3 separate regions of the Homo sapiens genome follow, and all the other regions are linked to region 3. Evidence: promoter capture Hi-C in 16 types of primary human blood cells and fetal thymus (Javierre and others, 2016). All regions are on one chromosome and are shown on one strand. Each heading gives the region's core, a stretch centred on a gene start or on the middle of the fragment in contact. The rest is flanking DNA. Distances are from core to core; before and after follow the strand shown. Region 1 has its middle 59 kb from the start of XKR4-AS1. Region 2 has its middle 10 kb from the start of CHCHD7. Region 3 holds the start of LYN (LYN proto-oncogene, Src family tyrosine kinase).

Evidence for each region. Contacts are between HindIII fragments. The CHiCAGO score rates a contact against its expected background, and 5 or more counts as called.
Region 1: a fragment that was not itself captured here is called in contact with the fragment with the promoter of LYN in region 3 in 1 of 17 cell types (erythroblasts); the score reaches 6.2 in erythroblasts.
Region 2: a contact is called between a fragment that was not itself captured here and the fragment with the promoter of LYN in region 3, in 1 of 17 cell types (naive B cells). The highest score is 5.3, in naive B cells.

The regions. Positions count from the first base shown.
Region 1 is chr8:55,578,597-55,581,758 of GRCh38, reverse strand. No RefSeq gene overlaps it. Among named protein-coding and RNA genes, the nearest start is that of XKR4-AS1, 59 kb to the right of the region's middle. The HindIII fragment of the contact is 205 bases long and covers 1,640-1,844 here.
Region 2 is chr8:56,220,588-56,223,953 of GRCh38, reverse strand. No RefSeq gene overlaps it. Among named protein-coding and RNA genes, the nearest start is that of CHCHD7, 10 kb to the right of the region's middle. The HindIII fragment of the contact is 288 bases long and covers 1,206-1,493 here.
Region 3 is chr8:55,877,787-55,881,245 of GRCh38, reverse strand. LYN (LYN proto-oncogene, Src family tyrosine kinase) reads right to left here and starts at 1,411. Exons shown (of 13, transcript NM_002350.4): 1 at 1,143-1,411. RefSeq lists silencers at 628-807, 838-1,127, 1,208-1,377, 1,398-1,457 and enhancers at 1,608-1,667, 2,228-2,317. The HindIII fragment of the contact is 13,046 bases long and covers 1-3,459 here.

The DNA.
Region 1 (3,162 bases), core at 493-2,992, 300 kb after region 3:
TTCTTGGCAATTAAGCAAGCAGAATTTTTTGGAAAGAAAGTTATTACCCTGGTTTGTAAATAAGGAGCTTTGGGTTATACCTTAACAATATCAATGCCACTAAAAGGAAACTGATTTTTTACAGTTTTTCACCTTAGTGAACCTCTAAAAGCCATATCTTTTCCATCTGTCAAAATTATACTCCTTTTAAAGATATTTCTTAGCCCTAAGGCCTTGCACAAAATATTGCTCTTCTAATAGTATATCCCAGATTCCTCAGTCATTAATTTTCTTCCAGCCTTCTTGTTGCATTTGTTAATGTGTTTATTATACTGCAGATCACAGAAACCTTGCATTAGATTTGCTTGTATTTTTGTGTTTTGCATTTGTCTCTTCCACAAGACTCTGAGCCTCTGGACAGCCCCCATTCATCCTCATATTCCCCATGGCACCTGTCTAGGCATGGGGACTTGTACAGAGTAAACCCTAAATAGATTCTAGTTTTCCTGAGTTCTCAGAAGTCACAATTTTTCCAACAGGATAAGGTAGCCAAGTAAATATTTATTGTAATGAAAATAAAGTGGCTGCCTGTAATAATAAAGTACGTAGGGCAATGTTTTTACTTATTTAGAGAAGTCATGGATGACAAAAATCATTGTGGTCAATAATTGGAGACAAATCTTCTTTAGTCGTAGTCCTTATCAACTATTCTGTTTCTAGAGGCTGCTGAAGTGTCTAGTTTGACAGCTACCAGTATATCTTTTATACAGTGGACATATTCGAGAGACTTGTGGACTCATTTGAAATATCTTCATCATCTTGAGTCATTGTAGACCAGGTACTCATTCTCATAAGTCTCTAAAATTGTTCCAATAGCTGTTCTTGGGAATAAAAGTGCAATACATTTGCATAGAATTTTTATCACAGAACACAGGTGGGATAAGTTCCTTATCGATGATGTGAACTCCTTGGGCTAGCTTTATTTCTCTACACTCATGAAGCTGGGTAAAATTATTTAATTTTATTCAGTTGTATCTATACTAGGGTGGGTATTGGAAACCCAGGTATGTTGAATAGTGGCCCCCAAGGATGTCCATGTTCTAATCCCCAGAACATGTGAATATGCTATCTTATATGGCAAAAGGGACTTTGCAGATGTGGTTAAGAATTTTGAGGTGGGGAGATTGCCCTACATTCTTCAGATGGGCCAAGTGTAATCACAAAGGTCTTTATAGGAGGGAGGCAGGAGACCAGAGTAGGTAGCAGAGGTACACTGATGGAGGTAAGCGGTTGGGAGGATGCAAAGAAGGCCATGAGCTGAGCCAAGAAGTGCAGGTGGCTTCCCAAAGCTGGAAGAGTCAGAACGGATTCTCCCCTGGAACCCCCAGAAGGAACCAGCCCTGCCCACACCTTGATTTTAGCTCTTTAAGATTTATTTTAGGTTTCTGACCTCCAGAACTGTAAAATAATAAATTTATGCAGTTTGAAGCCAAGTGTGTGGCAATTTGTTGCAGCAACTGTAGGAAATGAATACAGAAACCATACAGAGCATAGTCACCATCCATAGCATATCTGTGTCTACCAAGCTGCTGTACACTTCTCACTTATAGCTGATGTTCTCTGTCATTTTTTCCTTGGACTAAGCTCATGGAACAAAGCTTAGGAATTTAGAAGCACAGGAATAAGTGAGTTTAATTTTTCCTTTAAAGACTAGAATAGCATTGGAAATGGAACATGCTGAATAAGAGTAGAAACAGCTTTTCTATATGGCCCTGACAGTATCCTTCCTCCCGTTATGCTTCTTTTATCTTTGAGGTGAATGCTCCACCTGCTGTTGGAAAGCTGTTTAGTGCTAACTAGAAGCTTTGCTCCTGAACTCATCATAAACTTCTTGGTAGAATTGTCGATGTGATCACAGGATCAGAAGGGGCAGTTTGACCTTTTTTAAAAAGAGTGTGTTTTATTTGGAGTATTTTGTTTGCAAAGAACACAGATTCAATCAAATTGTTTCATGGAATTAGATGTTTAAGTGGAAGTTGATTATAAATGTGACAAATATAATTTTGTTCCATAATATTGGGACAAAAGGAAACGGGTATTTTTTAATTTTTCTAGATCAAATACATTTGGCTTGGCCCCCACTTGCCAGAGTTGCTGGTATGTTTACAACTAGTCATGACTGGAGATTGAGAGGTCCTATTCCTCTTCCTTGGGGTTTTAAGAAGCTGGGGCTGTCCCCAGAGGACAAGCTCCAGTGTGCATGAATGCCTCTGCTTCTATCACACTAATGTCCTGTTGGCCAAAGTAGTCATAGAGCCAAGCCCAGAGTCAAGTGAATGGGTGGCCAAGCATGCAACACCATGAACACCGAGAGCAGGGCTCATGAGGGACCCACAATAACCATTCAGCAGAGACTCTCTTAGCTTTTCCATTCAAACCTCTTAGCTTTTCTATTCAAACCAGCTCACTTCAGGTTAAATTTCTCAGTCATGAATTTTTATAGCATTTGGTGATTACTCTTTCCTGGCAGTAATCATATGAATTTTTTTTTCTAATGGTCTCTGTTCCATTTGACTGTTAGTGCCATGAGGGTAGGAAACATGAAGGTCTTTTTCCATGCCAAATCACTTCCAAAAGACTTTGTGCCTGGAAAAGTGTAGGAGAGGGTCCTCTTCCCCCAGCAGAATGGAACCAGACAGACTATTAGGTGACACAAACATGTCCACTAGGTTGCCCCATAAGCAGTTTTCTTAGACTTAGCAACCCTGGGTTGGATGCACCTAGTACAGAGAGTTGAGGATGAAGTTTGGGGCCATGTGTCTTCAGCATTAAGTGAGTGGTCTCAGATCAGGTTATAGAAGCATCAAGTCTGAGGGCAGGCTAGGTTCCATCGCACCATTCTGATTCCAGAGCTATCCCTTCATCAAGCAGTTTTTGGTTGCTCATTTTGCTCCCTAATAGGCCCCTGATTAGAAAGAGAGATTTCCTTCTTTGTCAAGTATTACGGTTTCCCCCCTCTTACAAGTTAGAGCCATATAGGTTGGTTGAAGAAATCAGCTCTCCAGATTTTTGACCAGTGATAGGTGCTTGAGAAAAAGCAGGATTGAGCAGTCTGAACACAGGCTTTAGAATAAGGCAACCCTGGATGTGAATGGGGGTTCTGCTGCTTCTTATCTGCCTAGT
Region 2 (3,366 bases), core at 100-2,599, 340 kb before region 3:
ACCTAAGGTCATTAAGGACATGGGTTGGGTCTTATGTGTCCAAAACCAAATCCCTTTCTAACTTCCTCAAGCTGCTCCCTTTATAAACGTGCCAGCTCTCAGAGGATTTTGTAAACCAAGGGAAGAAATGTGAACGTGCGCCTGAGGTGGTGAGCAGGTCTTGGGAATTTTTTCCCAAGCAGAGGAATTATTTCATTTGTGTTTTAGAAAGATTTGCCTGGCCATAGTATACAGAAGGAATGGCGGTGGGAGGTCGGGGGTAAGATTCGATGGGAGAAAAGTTAAGACAGCTGCAGTGTGATTCAGAATCACTGCAATAACCTGTCTGCCTCAATGCCTCTAGATTTTTCTAAACACAAACTAGATTTGATCCTCTCCATCTCAAAATCCTTCATAGCTTTCTCTTGCATACAGAATAAGGTCTAAAATACCAAGCATGGCATTCAAGACCCTTCATAATCTACACCCATTTTACCTTTCTAGACTTTTTCTCTTGCTACCTCCCTTCACACACCCTGGCTCCCGTGAGAACTTCTCCTCTAACATGCTATGTGTTTATTGCCCCTTTGTATTTATTGAGGCTCCCCTCTTAGAAGTTTGCTCTTATTCCTATTATGGTGATCATTTCATTTTCCCTTACAGCAGAGTGGAATTCTTTGAGGGCCAGGACAGTGTTATTCATCCATGCTCCTCCACAACGTTAGCCTAGCATTTTGCTCATTATCGACGCCTGGCAAATATCTGTTGAGCAGAATTTAACGGTAACAGCAGTACTGGTACTTGGATTCACTTAATATTTATTGAGCTCCAGAAATCATAAATAAAAAAACTGATCCACTTAATTACATTGAAATGTAAAACACTGTACAGAAATATCTTTACAAGCAGAAATTAAAGTTAAAAGACAAACTAGGGAATACACATAGAATACATACGACAAAAAGGTAATTTCTTTGATAGACCAAGGGTCCCCAAATCATTCACACCAACATTTTTTAAATGAGCAAGGGAAAACCAATAACCTGCAGTTCCATTTTTCACTGATTAGATTGGTAAGGATGAAAGAGTTTTAAAGTATCCAGTGGGACTGAGGGTGTCAGGTAAGAAACACTCACAGGCTTTGTTTATAAGCGTATAAATTGGTGTGGTCCTTTTTGGAGGGCAATTGATTTGCAGTATCTACACATTTTTAAACGCAAAAAGCTTTAACCTAGAAATTCCACTCTTAGCAATTTTACAGATAAAAACACGCACAAAGACCCAAGAACAAAGATGTTGCAACCTTGTTTATAGCACACTCATCAACAGGAGATTGCTTCAATAATGGTATATCATAAAACAGAAACTGAAGCCACTGAAAGAAATAAAGTAAATCTATAATCACAGATAGAAAATCATTCCAAACTTAATATCACTTAATATCATTAAGTGAAAAAAGCAAGGTATCCTACAGCTCACGTACTATGATGTTCTTTTTATGTAATAGATAAGCTTTTATATGCATGGAAAATCTTGAAAACTTGACACCGGCTGCTTCTGGGGCAGATTTATTGTACACTGTATACCCTTTTGCATTGTTTGAACCTGCATGTTTTTCAGTGTGGTCAATTTTAAAAGCCACCACCTCCTCAAACACACACATTTGTTGACCATTTACTATATAATAGAAGCAGACCAGGCATTATGGCTATAACCGTGAATGATATTATGTCCTCCAGGAGCTTACAAATACTAGATCCGATTCTCAAAAAGGAAAAAAAAAAAAGATGCTTTTCCGTGCTACAGACACAGTGCACCATCCTCCCCCAACCCACTGAGAATCTGTAATAAGATGGTTCCTGCAGGACAGAGATGCACATGAACACAGCAAAATGCCTTCTCTATATTTTGTCAGTTGATAATTGATATCAAAGGCTTGCCGACGCCAAAATTTCTCATGGCGCCCACTGACACAATTTATCAAATTAATTAGCTTCACCTCTCCCAAAGTAGAATCTTGGAAAGGGAAATAAATACAACAGAGGCAAATTTAACAGTGGTGATGAGAAAAACTCCCAAGACTGCCACTCAAAAGTGGTGCCATGAGATCTTGAACAACCAGGTTATAAGAAGAGTATACTGAAGTTTTCAGGGTAGGTGTAAAGAGGTAAACTAGGAATTAGGGAATTACTGAAGACAAATTTTAAACTGAACAAGTTTTGCCTGGACAGAGTCATTACATATATGTTAAGGATTTGCTGATTAAAAATCCCAAAACAATTAGTTTGTCATTGAAAGTACTTTATAAAAAACACACTTATAGAAACCAATCATCAAAGAGCTGTGCCATTACTACAAAGCTACAGTAATCAAGACAGTGTGGTGCTGGCATAAGGATAGACCTATACAGATCAATGGAATAGAATTTCAGGCCAGAAATAAACTCTCACATGTACAGTCAGCAAATTTGCAACAAGGGTGCCAAGACAATTCAATGAAGAATAGTCTTCATCAATAAACGGTGCTGGGAACACTGAATAGCCATATGCAAAAGAATGAAGCCTAACTCCTACCTCATAATGTACAAAAATTAAGTCAAAATATACAAAGACCCAAATGTAAGAGCTAAAACCATTAACACTCTATGAAAAAAGGTGGAAATCTTTGTGACCTTGGATTAGGCAATGCTTTCTTAGATATGATACCAAAAGCAACGAAAGAAAATAAGAAATTGGAGTTCATCAAAATCAAAAACTTTTATGCTTCAAAGTACACCATAAAGTGAAAATACAGCTCACGGAATGGGAGAAAAAAATTGCAAACCACGTATCTGATAAGGAATTTGTACTGGTATATATAGAACCCTTAAAACTCAGTAATTAAGACAACTCAATTTAAAAATGGGCAAAGGATCCAAATAAACATTTCTCCAAAGAAGAGATACAAACTGCCAATAGACACATTAAAATTTGGTCGACATCATTAGCCATCAAGGAAATGCAAATCAAAGCCATAAGGAGATACCAGTTCACACCCACTAGGATGGCTGTAATCCAGAGCAGATAACAAGTGTTAATGAGGAAGTTGAGAAATTTGGAACTCTCATACACTGCTGATGGGATTGTAAAACAGTGCAGCCACTTTGAAAAACTGTTTGTGCCTCAAAAGGTTAAACAGTTACCACGTGACCCAGCAATTCAACTCCTAGGTATATATCTTAAGGAGAAATTAATGTCCACATAAAAACTTGTACAAAATGTTCAAAAAACAGCATGACTCATAATAGGCAAGAAGTGGAAATCCAAATGCCCATCAGCTGATTCATGGATAAATAAAATGTGGTATAGCCATACAACAGAATGCTTAAGTACTGATACATGCAACAAC
Region 3 (3,459 bases), core at 162-2,661:
TAAATCTGACATGGTAGTCTTAGCTTCAACATCACCAAGCTGCAAAGAACCAAGAAGCCTCATTTATATGAATAGAATTCACTGCAATAAATAACAGTAACATCGTTTATGAAATGCTTGGTACGTACTAGGGGCTTTGTGTGTACTAAACAGCCCCTGAGGTATATATGCTCTCTCAAAGATGAAGAAACTCAAACAGGGAATTTCAATAATCGGTCCCCTAAATATACAGCCAGAAAAGTGCAAGGCCTAGATTCTGAGCTGGCGAAGAAGGGCGAATTTGGGATAATTAACACACTCGGATATACAAAAACACAACCGCTAATCCACATGACAGGCAGGCTGTTGGAAAGTTACGAATGCACCGCAAGCAAAAGATGCCACCATGGGCCCAGAGAATGCAGGAAAGTGGGAACTGACTCTTACGCCCTTCCCCCAAGGCGAAGGAAAGGCAACCCCTGAATTCTTAAAATAACTCTCGCTTCCTCTCAGCCGGCAAAAGCACCGGACTGCTCCTCGGCAGGCCGAGAGGCGCCGCAGCGGGAGGGTGAGTTCCAGCCTCCGCTGCAGCCCCTCGACGTCACGCTCCTGCCCGGGGCCACCAGGGAGGGCAACTGTCCGCGGGCCTCGAGAGGGCGCCGGCCGAGCCCCATCTCCCACTGCCAGGAGACCCAGGGTCCAGAGGGGAGATCAGATTGCACAATCCGAGGAGTCCTCTCCAGTATCCCCGCCGCGCGCCCGCTCCGCAAGGGCAGCGGCTTCCCCACTGTGTGCGAGAAGCGGCCGGAGCAGGGACAGCAGCCGGCCCTCGGGCCCTCACCGGGAAGGACACGCGGTGAGCCCGCCCCCGCGCCCGCACCTCCCACCGCTCCCCTGCGCGGCTCCGCGGCGGACACCTGCGGAGCCTCAGTCCCCGCGCCCTGGCTCCCCCGGGCCCGGTCACCCGTCGGCTGAAGACATCTAAGAGCCTTCGCCGCCGGAGCCCAGAGGCGGTGCGGCCAGGAAGCCGCCGCGGGCCGCGCCGATGCCCCCGGCCCCGAGTCTACCCTGCGCCCGGGACTCCGGCTGGTGGCACAGCCGCGGCCCCTGCACCCACTGCCCGCGTGCCCGCGCCCACCCCTGGGCTCGCGCAGAGGACTCACCCGCTCGCGGTGAAAGTTTCGGGGCGGCGGAGCTCCACGGTGACTTGAGTTCAGAGTGGGGGGCGCGACGGGGCGGCCCAGCAGGACCTGCGTATGGGGAGGCTGCTGGCCGGGAACGCTGGACGCGCGGCGAGGGGCTGCTGGCGCGGGGCCGGGGGTGGCGCGGCCGCCCCGCTTGCCGCGGGCTGGAGGCTGCAGCGCGTCTGGCCCGGAGGCGCCACGGCCGGGGAGCGAGCGGCAGCGCGGCCCGGCGCGGCGGGAGAGGAACTGGCTGTCTCTGGGCTCGGCCGAGAGGTCCCAGCTACTTCCTGGTGCTCGGATTTGCATATTGAGCCCGGAGGGCGGGGAAGTGACCGTTTGGTCCCTGCCCAAGGTTTGGGTGTTTGGTGTGGCCGTCGCGCAGGGCTTTGAAGGCACAGAAACCTGGCGACTCAGTCTGCAGCTCCGGGGAGTGGAGCAGCCCGGGCCAGCCTTCTCCTGTAGGGACGGACGGAAGGATCTCCAGAGGAGCCTGGGCTTCGCAGGCACATCGACTACACCTCTCGCGTCTCCTTTCCTTTCCTTCCGACCCATCCCCAAGGTATTATTAGGAAGGGGGTGCTCCCAGGAGCGGAGGAGGTGCGCTCTGATCCCTTCCAACATTAGGGGTTCTCTAGAGAAAGGATGCGATATGCCGAGGTGATGCTCGGGGTCTCGCTGAGTTCTTAATAATCATTACAAAGTAAGTTCCTTAAGGGTGTACAGGAGGCTGTTCAGGGCATTGATGGGGGAGGGGATGACGTAGAGTCAAATGGCCCGGCAAGTTCTCCGTTTCTCAAAGCCTCAGTTTCCTCCCAGGACAATGGATGTGAGGATGCCTATCTCGTGTACCTTTCTGTACAGGGCCCGCACTGCCCGCATGCAGGAATGCTGGCGTTATTTCATTCCTACTACAGCTGCGTCCCAGCATGTAGGGCAGTGCTTGCACGTAGCAGCTGGTGCCTAACCAGTGTTTGCTGAAAGAATGTGTGACCGCGTGCTCAAGCTCATGTTCAACTCAATAAATGCCACTTACAAATCCAAGATGTAAGATTAGGCTCGGGCACCGTGGATACCCACTTCTTCTAAGCCAGATTCTGTTCACTGGGATCTCAGCATTGCATTAATAGCAAACATTTACAGAGGGCCTGATGGGCCAGACACTGCCCAAAGCACTTCCTTTCTCTCATTAACAATGTTCTGAAGAGGCTGACCCCAGCTACAGAGCAATAAGTCAAAGCAGCTGCCTTGTGACACAATCTGATACAGCAGTTATTTGTTACTAGGAAAAGAGTACTAAAGTTTGCATACTAATTCCTTAAAAGAAGAAAGGTGGTTTATACCTGTGATGTTCACTGGTATGTAGTTGTTAGTTTACTGCTGAAGAGAAGGGGTGGGTTGCCCATGGAAATACCCATGGGAAGGTGTGTGATTGAAACCTATCAAGAATCCTATGGAGAAAAATAGAAAAATGAAAAAAGAACAAAACAAAACAAAATGAAACAAAAAACAATGAATCCTACAGAATAATTCACTACCTGAGGGCCTATTGCCTAGACTTTTCTTAAGAATGACCTCTCAAATATATTAACCCTACATTAAAGTTTCTGCTGCTACTGATGAATCCTTGAGATCCTGACTAAACGTGTGTGGCAAATAAGAATAGGATTCAAAAACGTTTGGTATTGGTTAATCTATCAGGAATGTCTGTCAGTGTTTTTGGTAAAATGTCTCTCAGGGTAAGGAACAAAGCATCATCAGGCTTACCTGAGCTTGCAACCAGATCCCCAACTCCCTAACTCCTCACAAAATTGTCCTCACTAAGTTCATCTCTTCATTCTTATTTGGAAAAAAACGATACGATGCTAATTTCCACTTCTTAGGCTGCATTTATACTTGCTGAATACTTCATTCAATCATTCTCCATATCTGTCTTTCCTTCTTAATGTCCCATGAAAGTTCTATTTCTCAGGAAAGTTTTATTTAAAGCTCCTATTGATAGGCAACTTTTTAAAGCATCTGTAGCATGTATGGTGTGCAACATTATTTTAAACTAGACCTAGGTACTTTTTAGCATTGTTTGCCCATGTTAGGCTTGTCTCCTCAACTACTGGTAAACTCCTTTTGGGAAGGCACTGCCTTTTATATTTATCTATTCCCCACTCTACCTCCCAGAAATTATGTTGGGTGCTTTAAAATAGTTCATTAGTATTGATTGATTGGTTAATTGATTGATGACTGATTTATCTCACCAGTTTTCTCTAAATTGAGCACAGAAGGCAGTGATCAGAGGCAGGGT